Linked DNA regions of Homo sapiens: region 2 is linked to region 1. Evidence: promoter capture Hi-C in 16 types of primary human blood cells and fetal thymus (Javierre and others, 2016). All regions are on one chromosome and are shown on one strand. The core of a region is centred on a gene start or on the middle of the fragment in contact, and the rest is flanking DNA. Distances in the headings are between cores, read along the strand shown.

The links. The method cuts DNA at HindIII sites, captures the fragments that hold promoters and counts their contacts. A CHiCAGO score of 5 or more calls a contact.
Region 2: a fragment that was not itself captured here is called in contact with the fragment with the promoter of LINC01116 in region 1 in 1 of 17 cell types (endothelial precursors); the score reaches 6.3 in endothelial precursors.

Annotation. Positions count from the first base shown.
Region 1 is chr2:176,635,115-176,641,713 of GRCh38, forward strand. LINC01116 (long intergenic non-protein coding RNA 1116) reads right to left here and starts at 2,495. Exons shown (of 5, transcript NR_188023.1): 1 at 2,348-2,495. It overlaps LINC01117 (long intergenic non-protein coding RNA 1117), which reads left to right and starts at 2,640. Exons shown (of 4, transcript NR_110599.1): 1 at 2,640-2,894; 2 at 4,377-4,459. RefSeq lists a silencer at 3,105-3,154 and an enhancer at 3,315-3,829. The HindIII fragment of the contact is 4,643 bases long and covers 1,601-6,243 here.
Region 2 is chr2:176,447,196-176,453,794 of GRCh38, forward strand. No RefSeq gene overlaps it. Among named protein-coding and RNA genes, the nearest start is that of NRAL, 57 kb to the right of the region's middle. RefSeq lists an enhancer at 2,553-3,160 and a silencer at 2,726-3,020. The HindIII fragment of the contact is 1,840 bases long and covers 2,765-4,604 here.

The sequences.
Region 1 (6,599 bases), core at 1,245-3,744:
GATGTGGAAAAGGTAGTTTTTATATGCTATTTAGAAACTGATCTGAAAAACTGATGAGCTGACCACAAGATTTCTGTCAGAAACTGAAATTAGGATTATATTTTAAAATACAATTGTAAATGCTTGCTTTCTTTTATAAAACCAATCTGCTTCTCATATTCCTAGCCTTAGTCACACTGAAAATACATAAATTTGGTATTTGGTTATTGAGTTTTGAAGTTGCAAGGCAGGATAATTTAGATATTCATAAATACAGAGCATAAGAAAATCCTTCCTGAGTGCAAAACTATCTTTAAAATAATCATCCAAAGGAGTGAATGCCACACCTCCTGATTTAATTTTGGCTATTAGCTATTCATTCCTTAATATACATTCTTCCACATAAAACTTGCACTGTCTTAAAACTTGCCTACAAACTGGCATGTCCAAATTGTGTGCATAAAAAATAAGATGAAGATCGATGCCAAGTTTTCAAGAAAGAAATGAATTTGGATTGTTTATTACACCAACAAGACACATGTTCAAATTTATCCCCTGTATATAAAAAGATTAGTATAAAATATTTCTCAATTGTTTATGCAGAAAGTAGTAGGGAACAAATTCCAATAATTTTTATCACATAGCTGATATAGCTAAATATTTGGAACCTTTAAAAGAAAAGTGCTAATTAAAATACATATAAATTTTTCAAAGTTTAAAAAGCAGTTGGAAAAATACTTCTACCACTTAGAACACAATTACCTGCACAGCTTAATAGTCTTATGGATTTCAGTAGTAAAATATGTTTAGAAACATCTTGTCTTTTCCATTCCCTCAAACACACAGTGGGCTGAGAATATAACTCTTCATAATATATTAAAAAGTATCCACCATCTTGAGAAAACTATATATTATGGTAATAATTTTTACATCTGATTATGCCATTTTTAGACTATGGAATATAGTTTCTGAATTCTTTTGGGGGGAGGGAAATGGTGTGGAAAAACTACTTTTAAAACGTGCTTCTATCTTCATTTAAAATGTATAAATTCTCAAGTTTCTTAACAAAAAACTTTGATCCCACTATTTTATATAGACTGCATTTATAGGCTTGGAAATCCTGTTCTCTCTATTAAACTCCTTAGACAGGATTATATTAATCTTACTTAAAAGAAAAAACTACTTACAGCAAACATGGCACTCAAAAGAATTAAAAATAATACTTGCAATATTTTAATATTTATGAAAATCTGTTTTTTGAAAGACAGATGAACTTAGAAATGTGAACACACAAAAAAATACAAGTATAAAGTTTCCTTTCGAAACTTTTCCTTTCAAAGAAATATTTATCCCACATTTCTACATGCAAAACTTTTAGTGTAAACTATTGAGAAAATCCTAAATAGTAAAACATTTGTTTCTGTAAGTCCATAAGCACTTGCTGTACATACTCAGAGGCAGCCCTGGCCCACTGTATCCGCAAATGCATCTGCAGGGGGAATGGTTCCAAGCCAGTCACTGAGTGTCATCTGTCCCTTCTCCAGGGGCAGGGACATTGAGTCACAATGAAATTTTATTATTTATATACATTATTTTAAATTCTGTTTTTCTTAGAGCTCAAAGCTTTGACAGTAAATGTCAAACCACACTGAAGTTGACTTGTTAGCTTTTGTAGCTAGCCTTACTGCTGTCGGCTATTTCAAATTGCAAATGACAATAAACAGGTGGTTTTTTCTTTTAATCACTAAAGAACATCCCTTTTCATATAGCTAATATAACAAAAAAGTCTAAAACATGGGCATATAATTCCCACTGTAAATTAATTATAATTATTTCAGGCTTAAGTATTAATAGTAAGTGAATTCTTTTCAAGAGATCCTTGGCGGTTCCATTTGCCCTTGAACATTAACCCTGCCACCTCAAAACTCAATGCCTTTGCACTTAGTCTAGAAAATTAAAAATACAACTCGTCCTCATCCTAGTAACCTGCGCAAGTCTCTACAAGAGACTGGAGGATCTACGTGGTAACTAACTTTAACTTACCTCTTCTAGGCTTTATTAACGAGTTTATCAAAAAATATTAACTTTCAGGCAAGATGTGGCTAATTCTTAAATGCAGCTTAAAACTTTCGACATCCCCTTGTAAAAATGATGCCACGAAATGTGCCACTGTCCATTTATTTCCCATTTCACTTAACGCATTAATATTGACCCTTCGGACAGCAGCGCTGGCATCATTTTGGAGCTGCAAAGCAAGACGTGGCGCGTTGATGAGCTAAAAAGGACCCGTCTTTCTCTGGGCCCCTTACCAACATCTCTCTCCCTAGAAGACAAATACTTTTCAGATCTCGCACCCCTCTTTACAAACCTGAGCGGGGCTTTCGGGGTAAGGGGAGGCAAGACTTTGGTGGGAGCTGCTCGTCTTCAGCAAAGCGAGGGCCGGCTGCAAAGGCGCAGGCTGGCAGTTCGGGTCATTTCCTGCCGATTCCCCATTCCCCTCGGAGCAGCTTGGAGAGGAAGTCGGACTTCTTTTCCAGGCGGAGCCTCCACGATGGGCGTGGGCGCCTCGTGCGTGGGCCGGGGGCCTCGTGCGTGGGCGGGGATCGGGGCCTGGGAAAAACGGGAACCCGGTACCCGCCCGCGCCCTCGCGCGTCGGCCAGGAACCTCGGCCCCATGCGGGCGGGCCAGCGCGGCCAGGAGGGCCGGGAAGAGGGGTCCCCGGGGCCCCGGATGCGCTGAACTCCGGGGAGGGGATGGGCAGGAGAGAGAGCACACTCCTGGAGCCGCGACGTCCAAACCCGGACGCACTTGAACCCGCAGCGAGGCCCGTGGCTCGCGGCCTTCGGAGAGCACCCGCGCCCCGCGCAGACCGGACGCCGGCCTTGCCCGATCCTCGGCATCCTTCGGCGGGGCGGCCAGTCCCAGGGCGCTCGCTGAGGGCCACACCCTGGCCCCAGAGTTTAGCACCGCCGCGGGCAGGGCGCTCCGCTCCCGGACCCCGAATCTGAAAGCGGAGACCAAGGGCTGCCTGCGGCAAAGCTCGACATACACTTGATTTTCTTCCGATTTGGAGAAAATGTCACGGGCGAGAGCAAAAAAAAAAAAAAAAAAAAAAAAAAAAACCCTAACTGTAAATATTATTTGGAGGTGGGCGAGGGCGCGGCGTGCGCGCGGCGGCGGGTGGCGGGCGGCGCGGGCGCCCTTGCGGGGATTCCCGGTCTCTCAGCGCGCCCTAGTGGACGCCCTGCCTTTCGCTGGCTCCCCGTGCTCGTTACAATCTGCAATATATTATTTCTTCCGAAGTATTGACAATGTGTGAGACTCCAGTAACCCCGGAGCTCTCGTCTGTAATCAGCACATTTATCCACATTTAAGGGGGAAAATCCGAATTAAATCCCCGTGACCCTGATTGGGTTACAGTGTCATTTTCCCTGGATCCTCTTTTAAATCCACTCCACACTGCTTCTCTGTCTATTACATGCTAATTTAATTTTACTGTGGAAGATATTTTCAGGATTTGCTGAGGACAGTAAATTTTGTAGTTTATGTTATTTCACTTTTTATGACTTTTTAACACTTAATAAAATTTTATTAGAGCACTTTTGTGTTTACAAGGCCACAAAACTCTTGGCAGGTTGTCAGAAGTCCTTTTTATTATGATCCTACTGATATACTGCGAGTAATGAAATAATCATGTCCAGAAATGTATCAAAGGCCAGAGGGATTATCCCACTTAATAGCTCCACAGATGCGCCCAGAAGAATGTGGACGCGCGACAGGACGGGCTGAAAGGCTGCAGGAGGAAGCAGGCAGCCCCGGCTCCTGGCTTTACCATTTCGGTTGCTTTCCTAAAAGGCTACATGCAGGGTCATGTGACTTTCCGCGGTCTCAATAAAAAAAAAAAAAAAAAAAAAAAAAAAGAATTTATTCTATTGCAAAATGTGCTTTTCTTTTTATACTCCTTGTGTGGGCATTTAAGACTGTTCTAGTGGCAGTGGGGTTGGCTGTACATATCCATGTCAGTCACCGCGCCCGGCCCCACTTTCTTCTCATTTCTAAGTGTACTTTTGTGGCATTTAAACTGCCGATGGTGACTTTGGTGTTGAGCGGTGTTGTTTCCACAGCCCACACTGAAGGCATTGGGAGGGACCCAGGAGGGCACAAGGTGTTTTAAGGCCCTTTCCCACCTGCCAAACACCTTTTGCTGTTGCTTTTTGGTTTTATTTTGTTTTGCGAAACCGGGGAATAGTGACTTAAGGACTCGGCTTTCTGCCTTGTGCCAGAGAGCCACAGTACACTGCTTTTATTTTTATTTTTTGGTAAGACTTGGCTATAGGAAGGACTGAGAATATAGCTTTCATTTCTTTTAAAAAACATTTCCTTTTCTTTTAAATAGATACGTGATCATTTAACACACGGGTGTTAAGTTCATTCTTGCTGCAAAAGAAGGCCATTGTACCTCCTGACCCTGAAAGCAAGGTGGGTGGCTTTGTTTTATAATTAAATTTTCTGTCTTCAGCTTCATATTTCTCTTTCTCTGTTATTTCCTAAAGAGTGTGTCAAAGTGATAAAAGAGGTGAGGAATGGACTCATAAACAGAGTGATTTTGAAATTACTGTTGGTGTATCCATAGCACGTGTTCTTCTAAACTTTGGCTTTTAAGGATTTCAGCAGGGTTTTTCACAAGCAAGTGTGTGTGTGTGTTTCATGTTCCAACATATCACATTAGGATTTTGTAATCTGTCACTGTTTAAAACAGCCTCTGGGAAGCGCGCCTCTCTCTGGATTGCCTCCATCACACGTGTGTTCTCTCCCATTCAGAAATACATAAGGCTGCTCATGATGCTCTTTGATTTCAACTTCAAGGAAGCAGTTTAGTTTTTTGTATGTCGTTTGCTAACCATGGACAAAATTTAGCACCTGGTCTAATAGTCTTCTGTGTGTCTGTGATGGCCTAGATTCTGAAAAGAGCTTACGAAGGACTGCAGTCCTACCTTAAAAATAATTATGTCCTGAGATCATTTGGGCAGCCATTTATCTCCTTTTCTGGTATTTTCTATTTGCAAATATGAGTCAGTTTTTCTTTCTCTTTTTCAAATTATTTCTCTAACAGTTAAAGAACTAGGAAAGAAAGTGATGTTAGGCCCTGACTAAATATTCTTCCTTCATTCTGCTTACTACTGACGGCTTGTTTTCTTTGCCTTTTACCACATGAGACACAAGATATGAGACGGAGCAGAGAAAAAGGTTCTGATGTTAGCTCTCCAAATTCCAGAGTGTTTTGCATAAGGGAATTTATGCTCAAGTTCAGGAATCAAGAGGAACATATTAATTTTCATTCTGCTATGAAGTGACAGTTCAATTTTATGAGTAATTTGTGTCTGGGACAATTTAAATAATACTTAAAAGCCTGCAGTAGCTTTCAAGTTAAAAATCTATTGTGTTCAATTATGAAGTAAACCTCCCCAAGGCAGATCCATTTAATGCATCAAAGTATGTTTTTAACTCTTATTCAAAACTCCAAGAGATTGGCTTAAATATGGTAACTGATGGCACACAGCTGTGTTAATGGAGGGCTAACTAGTGTCCACACCGACTTCACAGTCCCTTCTCAAGTCTTCAGTGATGAAAGGAAAGAAAAGAGTGAAGCCTCAATCTTTTCATCTAGAGAATCGATCTTCAAAAACAGGAGTAAAGGAGCCACACCAGAAGCATGCAATGGTCTCCTCATAAGAAAACGTGCTGTTACAAAGCAGTAAGGTATTGGTGATACCAGGGCAGACCCTAGAACCACTTTGCTTGTTTCCAATCCAGTTCTGCTGTCTATTACTGTGTGGCCCTGGACAAGTTATATAACCTCTCTGTGATTAGTTTTTTCATCTGTAGAATGAGACTGATGCTAGTCCCCCCCTCCTAGTTTTGTTGAAAAGTTTAAAGAGTTAATTCATATGAAATGCTTAAAACAGACCCTGAGTGCTTCTTAAAACAAACTCCTGGAAGACTGACATATCCATCACCTAGCACAGTGCCTGGCACATAGTAGGTCAATCAATATTTGTTGGATGAATATTGGATGTTATTTCATTGAGTGCCCTAGTTGGTTCAGGTGTGACCCATGAAGCAATGACTGAAGCACTCTCAGCCTCAGGTGTGGACTTGACTACTGAGAGTGGGCAGCACTCCAAGAGAAGTTTTATCCAACTGCAATTTTACTTTTTCTACGGATTTCTATGTTGTCTTCTTGATTAACAATTGGGTTATAAAGCTTTTGAGAAAAGAGCATCCGAAATTTTGAGGGGTCTCTATAGCACTTACCACAGTGCTTTGTACATAAGTAATAGACAATTGGTAAGACAGTATGCCACACATATCAGAGCAGTATGCATTACAGTCTTTTATTCAATAAACGATGGTTACAGGCACTATGCGAAATCTTTTCCATACATTGTTTCATTTTATTCACACTAATTTTCATACAGGTAGTTACAATCCCTATTGTATAGGTAAGGAAAATATGAGGCTCAGAGAAGCCTAGTGACTTTCCCAAGGTCACACAGCTAGTAAATGACAGGTCTGGATGTTTAGTCCAGGTCTATGGAAATGTCAAACATATACAGTT
Region 2 (6,599 bases), core at 2,435-4,934, 190 kb before region 1:
AATCCGACCCAGTAAGAATTTATCTCCATAATTACTCCTGAGCCTATGAACTACGAGTGAGTTTGTTTAAGATAGGCAAAGCTCTAGAAGTGTCCTTATTGATAGATCCTCTCAAGTTCTGTTGTCCTTACATTGTAAAGAGCACTGGACGAGCAGGTAGGGGATGAGGATTCTGTCATTTATAGGTACAGAGCAGGCACTCTGGCTCTCTGGGTCTTTTTATCCTTGACTGTGTGTATTGTGAGTAATTATTATTTCAACAGGGTCTTGGGAAGCTCAAATAAATCCATATATGAGATAGAACTTAAATTTTATATGTATTATTTTACTTTATTTATTCTTGAAATATCTAACAAACTTAATAATGACACAAACCTGTTAGTTTGTTGTAACAATTTATTCAGTGTTTAGCACCAGCCCTGCACCTTGTAAGCATGTAAGTGGTGATTTACTGTTAGAAATGATAGCTTTTGCTGTTTATAATACTTTGCTATTAATAATAATAATATATATCAAGTATTTTAAAACTGTAAAACTGCACAAATGCCTGTTTTTGAGCTTATTCTACAAAAATATAAGCACTTATTATTGTCAGATATGATGCAATAAAAGTAACTTAGGCAATATTTACAAGATACAAGTCTAGAGTGTAGTGGACATGAGAGAGGATGGCTGTGCAGCTCATAGTACCCTTAGTGACCCTGTCTGCGGTTTCATCCCTAGCTCCTGACCTCATCTGATTGGTTCAAGGATAGAGATTTTAGACCCAAGCTGGGCCAATCAGGTTCCCTATCTTGAGAGACTGAAGATGGGTGGAACCGAGTCTGGGGCTCTGAGAGGGAGGTCACTGGTACTGTCTGAGTTTCTGCTCTTCTCGCCCTCCTCTCCATGAGCTGTATCCTTCCCATAACCTGCTTCTTGCATTAGCCAGAGTCTGTTTCTCTGGCTTGTACCCAAAGAATCTTGACTGATACCTATAGGGAAACAATGTTTGCTCTTCTCAAGTGCCTGCCTTGAGATTACATGCCTCTAAGATTTGTATAGAGGACAATAAGAATAAGAGCTTATTGATAAGGCTGAACAAAACTGGGGAAACAATATAAATCCAAAAATTTTTGAAAATTTTATCCAGCTTTCTTCAAATTATTGACTTGGCAGGTATAATGAAAAATATTAAAGCCAAGTAGAAATGTTTTTCTTATCAAGTTATAAAACTATATGAGACTAAACAAAATCAAATTAAGGCTAAATTAATACATTTTGTGTAGAGAAAATAAATACATGATTAAATGTTTCATGGTATCTTTACCTAAGACCACGATGCAGGAGAACCTTGACCCAATTGTAGCAATGTGTGAGCCACCAGAGAGCCTCACTCTAGCACTCTTCCAAGAGGGAGGAGTTTGGTGGGCTATGGGCCTGTCTTGCCCTCCAAGGAGTGCTTTATCGCTAATGTACCAAATGCGCTAATTATAGTGCCGTTTTCTCTTTAAGGCAGTTCTTGAGCACAACCTCTTGAGAATAGTCTATCTCTGCCACTTGTAAAACTGCTATGAAGTGGGTTTTGAAACATAAACAATTACATGGATAATATATGTGGGAATAGACTATTGTTAAAATAAAAATTATATTTATCTTCAGTGGCATAAAATGGAATGTGTCCTTTGCCCTGGTCACACTTTATCTGTCCCCTCCATTTTATAGGGATTTTTTTTTCTTAAATAAATCTTTCCCAAGCATAATAAAAATCTAATTGATCCTTTCTTTGGGGACGTTCATAACCAGATCTTTGATGAAATGCCCCATAATGGTTCTAAATGAGGTGTATTGAACTGTTTTGTCAATTCATTGCAGGAACAGTGGCATTGCCAATATTAAGCACGAGGTAAACAGATCTTATAAAAAGTACTACAGAAGGAGTATAATGTTTGCCTTTTAAAGCCACTGTTTTATATTTTAGATCTTTTAAATATAGTTTGAGAATGTTCAACACTATTAGATAATGAAACTAAAAATGCCATTCAATGTAAAGCCCCGCTAACAAGGCTTGGCTTTCTGTGAAGGGTATTGCCAGAAGTTCCCTTTTGCTTCTCTACCTTTCACAGCTCCCCAGACAACATTCATCCCTTCATTCATTCACTCAGTCACCCATCCAATCATTCCTTCATTCATTCACTCAGTCACCCATCCAATCATTTCTTCATTCATTCAACTATTGTTTATTAAATGCTCGCCACGAGCCATGAGGGGAACATATTTGAACTCAGCTTTGAATATGTCTTTGTTTCCAAAAAGTGTGTCTCTCAAGGTACACTGCCCATATGTATTTCTTACACTCACTGGTCTCCCCTGTGTTACTGGGAAGACTCTTTAACCCTCATTAAATGAATAAATCCCTGCTGCTGGTCATAGGGAGGACACCATAAATGCAGCTTCTCGAGAAGCAGTTCTATCTTGAACTGATGCTTGCAGTTGAGAGGCCTTCATGAGTTTCAGTTTGGGCTCGCATCTGAAACTCCATTTTGTTTTCTTCCTTGCCATATCTCAGATTAGTAGTTATCAGCACCTCTCCTGTCTCATTTTTACCTGCTCCCCAGGGCCTCCTGTAGTGACTTGCATGTTTGCAAGCCCCATGGCCTGTTTCTTCAAGTTGGGACATCCTAAACACATCCTCAAAATTGATAAAAATCTGTCTAGCTGTTTTGGTATGATGTGGTGACAAAAAAGATAGAAACTTAACTTTAGATGTATGGAACAAAGATAAAGCTTGGTAGTATGCTACAGAGAATTCCTGCAGGTTCAAAATGAGTTCAAGTGTGTGGCAACAAGGCTCTCTCCCTTTTGATGCAGATTCAGGAATTTGGATGCCATGAATTTCAATAGCATCAGCTTTGGTTTCAAGCGCCTGTTTCAGGGCTCCTCCCCGACTTTCCACCATCTGGAATCTGAGTGGTTAATGGGAGAGGCTGTAAATACCGAATCATTTTGTCTTCTCCTTGTCTGTCCCTGCAGTGGGGTTTGTTCACATGAAAGCTACATTCTGCAGGAAAGGCATCATGCACCAAGGAGAAAAATGGCATTTCTTGTCAACTTTGACTTTTTCACACACTTTCTCCAAATTCTACTCTGAGAGACTGTGATAACTTTTTTTGAAAGTCAGAATCTGAAGGAAAAGCTGCTTTCCAACTAGCTACAGGGGCATTTCTTGAGATGTAAAGTTGTGATTACATGTGAAAAAGTCTGACCATACTATGAATTATTAATTAACATTGATGTCCTATCAATCAGACAGTGCATTTATAGTTAGATATAAGTTAGAGCAAGTCAGCCATCCTAATTGGCACTCTGGAGGGAAGGAGACTCAGACAATCCCTGCAGAAACCCCTTCTGCTCTAGGGATATGGCGTCTATTTACCCTCCAGACAGTATTAATTCTTGCAAATATCTGGACAGCTTGTTGTTCCAGTGCCAGCTTTCACAAATTGCAGTATAAAGGAGGACCAGTTATTTATTGTTGGGTAACTAACCACTCAAGAGATAGCGGTGTGAAACAACAACCATTAATTTCTTGATTTTGTAATTTGTGCTGGGTTCATCTCCATGGTTCTTCTGCTTATCTTGCCTCCTGGAGTCACCTATGTGGCAATTGATTGGTGGGTTGCTTGGAGGCTGGCTGGTGGGGACCATCTCATTCATATGTGAGTGAATTGCTGGAACAGCTTGCTGTCTGGGCCTCTCTACTTGGCCTTATCCTCAAGGAAGCTAGCTTGGGCTTTCCTATATGGTGATAGCGGTGTTTCAGAAGAGTGAGAGTGGAAGCTGCAAGATCTCTTAAGGCCTGGGCTTGGAAGCCTCACAACAACACTTCTGTTGGTCAAAGTAAGTCACAAGCGCAGCCCTGATTCAAGGAGTAGGAAAATGGATTCCATCTCTTTAAGAAAAGAGCTGCAAATAATTCATGGCCCTGCTTCATCTACGCAGGTAGGAGGAGTCAGTGTTAGAGCCATTGGCCCCTATAAATGTGGGCTGCTGGGATGTTTCTTTAATGTCAGGTGAAAATTCACTTTGGGAAAGGAGTTGCAAAGTGAGCCCAGGTTATGGTCTTTCTACTGTCAGATCAACCCTTGGCAATAAGCTCCTGCACTCTTGCCAGATGATTTTTCTAAGATTCAACTCTGATTGTATCACTCTCAAGCTCATACCTTAGTGGTTTCCTTTCTCCTGGAGTCTACAATTCTCATTCTTTTTTTGAGAGGAAGTTTCACTCTTGTTGCCCAGGCTGGAGTGCAGTGGCATGATCTCAGCTCACTGCAACCTCCACCTCCTGATTTCAGGTGGTTCTCCTGTCTCAGCCTCCCAAGTAGCTGGGATTACAGGCACCCACCACCATGCCAGGCTATTTTTTTGTTTTTTTAGTAGAGATTGGGTTTCACCATGTTGGCCAGGCTGACCTCAGGTGATCTGCCCACCTTGGCCTCCCAAAGTGCTGGGATTACAGGTGTGAGCCACTGTGACCGGCCTATAATTCTCATTCTTTAGCATGGCCACTCACAGTCTGGCTCTTGTCCACCTTTGAATCATCTCTCATGATTTCCCCATGAGTAAGCTTTGCTTCTTGCAGTATCTATTTGTTCCATGTGCTTGTATGCTTTGGTGCAGTTCCTGATGCCTAGAACCTCCTTTCTAGGTTTGTTAAGGATCAGGTGGCTCGCAAAGCTTTCTGCAAGACAGCCTCAGCTAAGTTAGGCTCCCCTCCCTGCACTCCCCTCTGGTGTCCACAGCATCCTGTGTGTGAAGGCTGGTCTCCTTGACCTCCGCTCCACCAGACTGCAAGTCCCTTGAAGGCAAGAACTATGCCTTATTTCTCTCTGTTGCTCCTAGCCCAGTGTTGGGCATGTAAAGGGAGCTTGAAATATGTCAGCAAACATATGATTATATAGTAAAATCTCTTTGGGATTTATTTCCTACTGTTTTTGATAAAAAGACCCCAACTGTCCTTTGGGCTCCCCAGGATGTACAAATATGGAGACACACCATGGAGCAGTCTCCAGGCTTGTTTGTGGGTCATGAGAGATCCTGGTATTTCTCACCACTTCCAAGGCTCTGCCTGGCCCCTCTTCCCAGCACCAAGGTCTCTGGATTCTTTCTTTTTCTTTCTGTATTTTAGAATTATGCCATCACATAATCCTTATCAGTGAAAAGTTCTTTTTGGGTGTAAAAGAAACCATCAAGAAGTGGCAAAACAAACAAACAAAAAAAAAAGCAATATTAAAATCTTGGCCAGGCACGGTGACTCACGCTTGTAATCTTAGCACTTTGGGAAGCCGAGGCAGGCGGATCATATGAGGTCAGGAGTTCAAGACCAGCCTGGCTAACATGGTGAAACCCCGTCTCTACTGAAAACACAAAAATTAGCTGGGCGTGGTGGCAGGTGCCTGTAATCCCAGCTACTCGGGATGCTGAGGCAGGAGAATCACTTGAACCCGGGAGATGGTGGCTGCAGTGAGCCGAGATCGTACCACTGCACTCCAGCCTGGGTGACAGAGCAAGACTCTTTAAAAAAAAAATCTTATCTTCAAATTGCCTATGGAGTCCACGAGAATCCCAGGAAGATGGCACATAAATACTACTTCCCAGCCATGCATGTGACCACTGGAAAAATGCTACCCTGGACTGATATGGAGTCATTAATCAGGTGTCATGCAGTGGTCCAAAATGGCCCTTACGCATCTATAGTGGACTGAGGAAAATCACTCTCCATCCATGTCAGGCCATGACCACCCTGATCATTCACTGAGGCCACCTGGGCCTTGTCACAGCCACTGGCAGCAAAGGCAGCTCACTGTGCTCTTTCACCATTCAACAGCTGCTCCAGGAGAAGGTGTGGTAAGGAGGAGTCAGGCCAGAGGAAGTGAGAAGGAAATGAGAAGAGGTGATGGCATGGGGGTGAGAGATGGAGCAAGGAGAGGGAAGGAGGGGGTCAGGCCTGCTTTCCCCTTCTGTTGCCCTAAGCATGGCCAATCTGTTTCTCCTCTGTGATTTCTTTATCGTCTGGGCTGTCAAGGGTAGAATTTCCAGTTTTCTCTGGCACATATTATAAAGTATTGGGGACAGAGGAGTATTGAACTTGAAGCTCCATAAACCTTGCAAATTTCAGCCCATAACTGATTTTCTAATAGTGCTGTTAATGTTTTTTCCTTTCAAAACCCTCAATCAATGTTGATTACCAAAGGCTTCTGTGTCTCTCCAAAAATAGCTGAACTTGCTTTTTGGGGGAATGTTTGAATAAATATTTGCTCTTATATGATACTATACACTAAGTCTTTAAATAAAACTGGGTTTAAATGAAACCAAAGGGAAGAATCATAACCTTTTACCCTATGCCAGTCACCGTGCTAAGTTTTTTGTGTGCCTTATTTCATTTATCCTCACTTCACCTCTGTGAGGTAGCATCTACTGGTATTATCTCCTGATGGGGAAATGGATATTAGTGTGATTGAGTTGGTTTAGTAAGGCCACACAGATAGTGATGGAAAGAGCTGGAAATATCCTACTTCTGCATAACCAAGTGCTCCCAACCACTTCCCTAAATGAATATA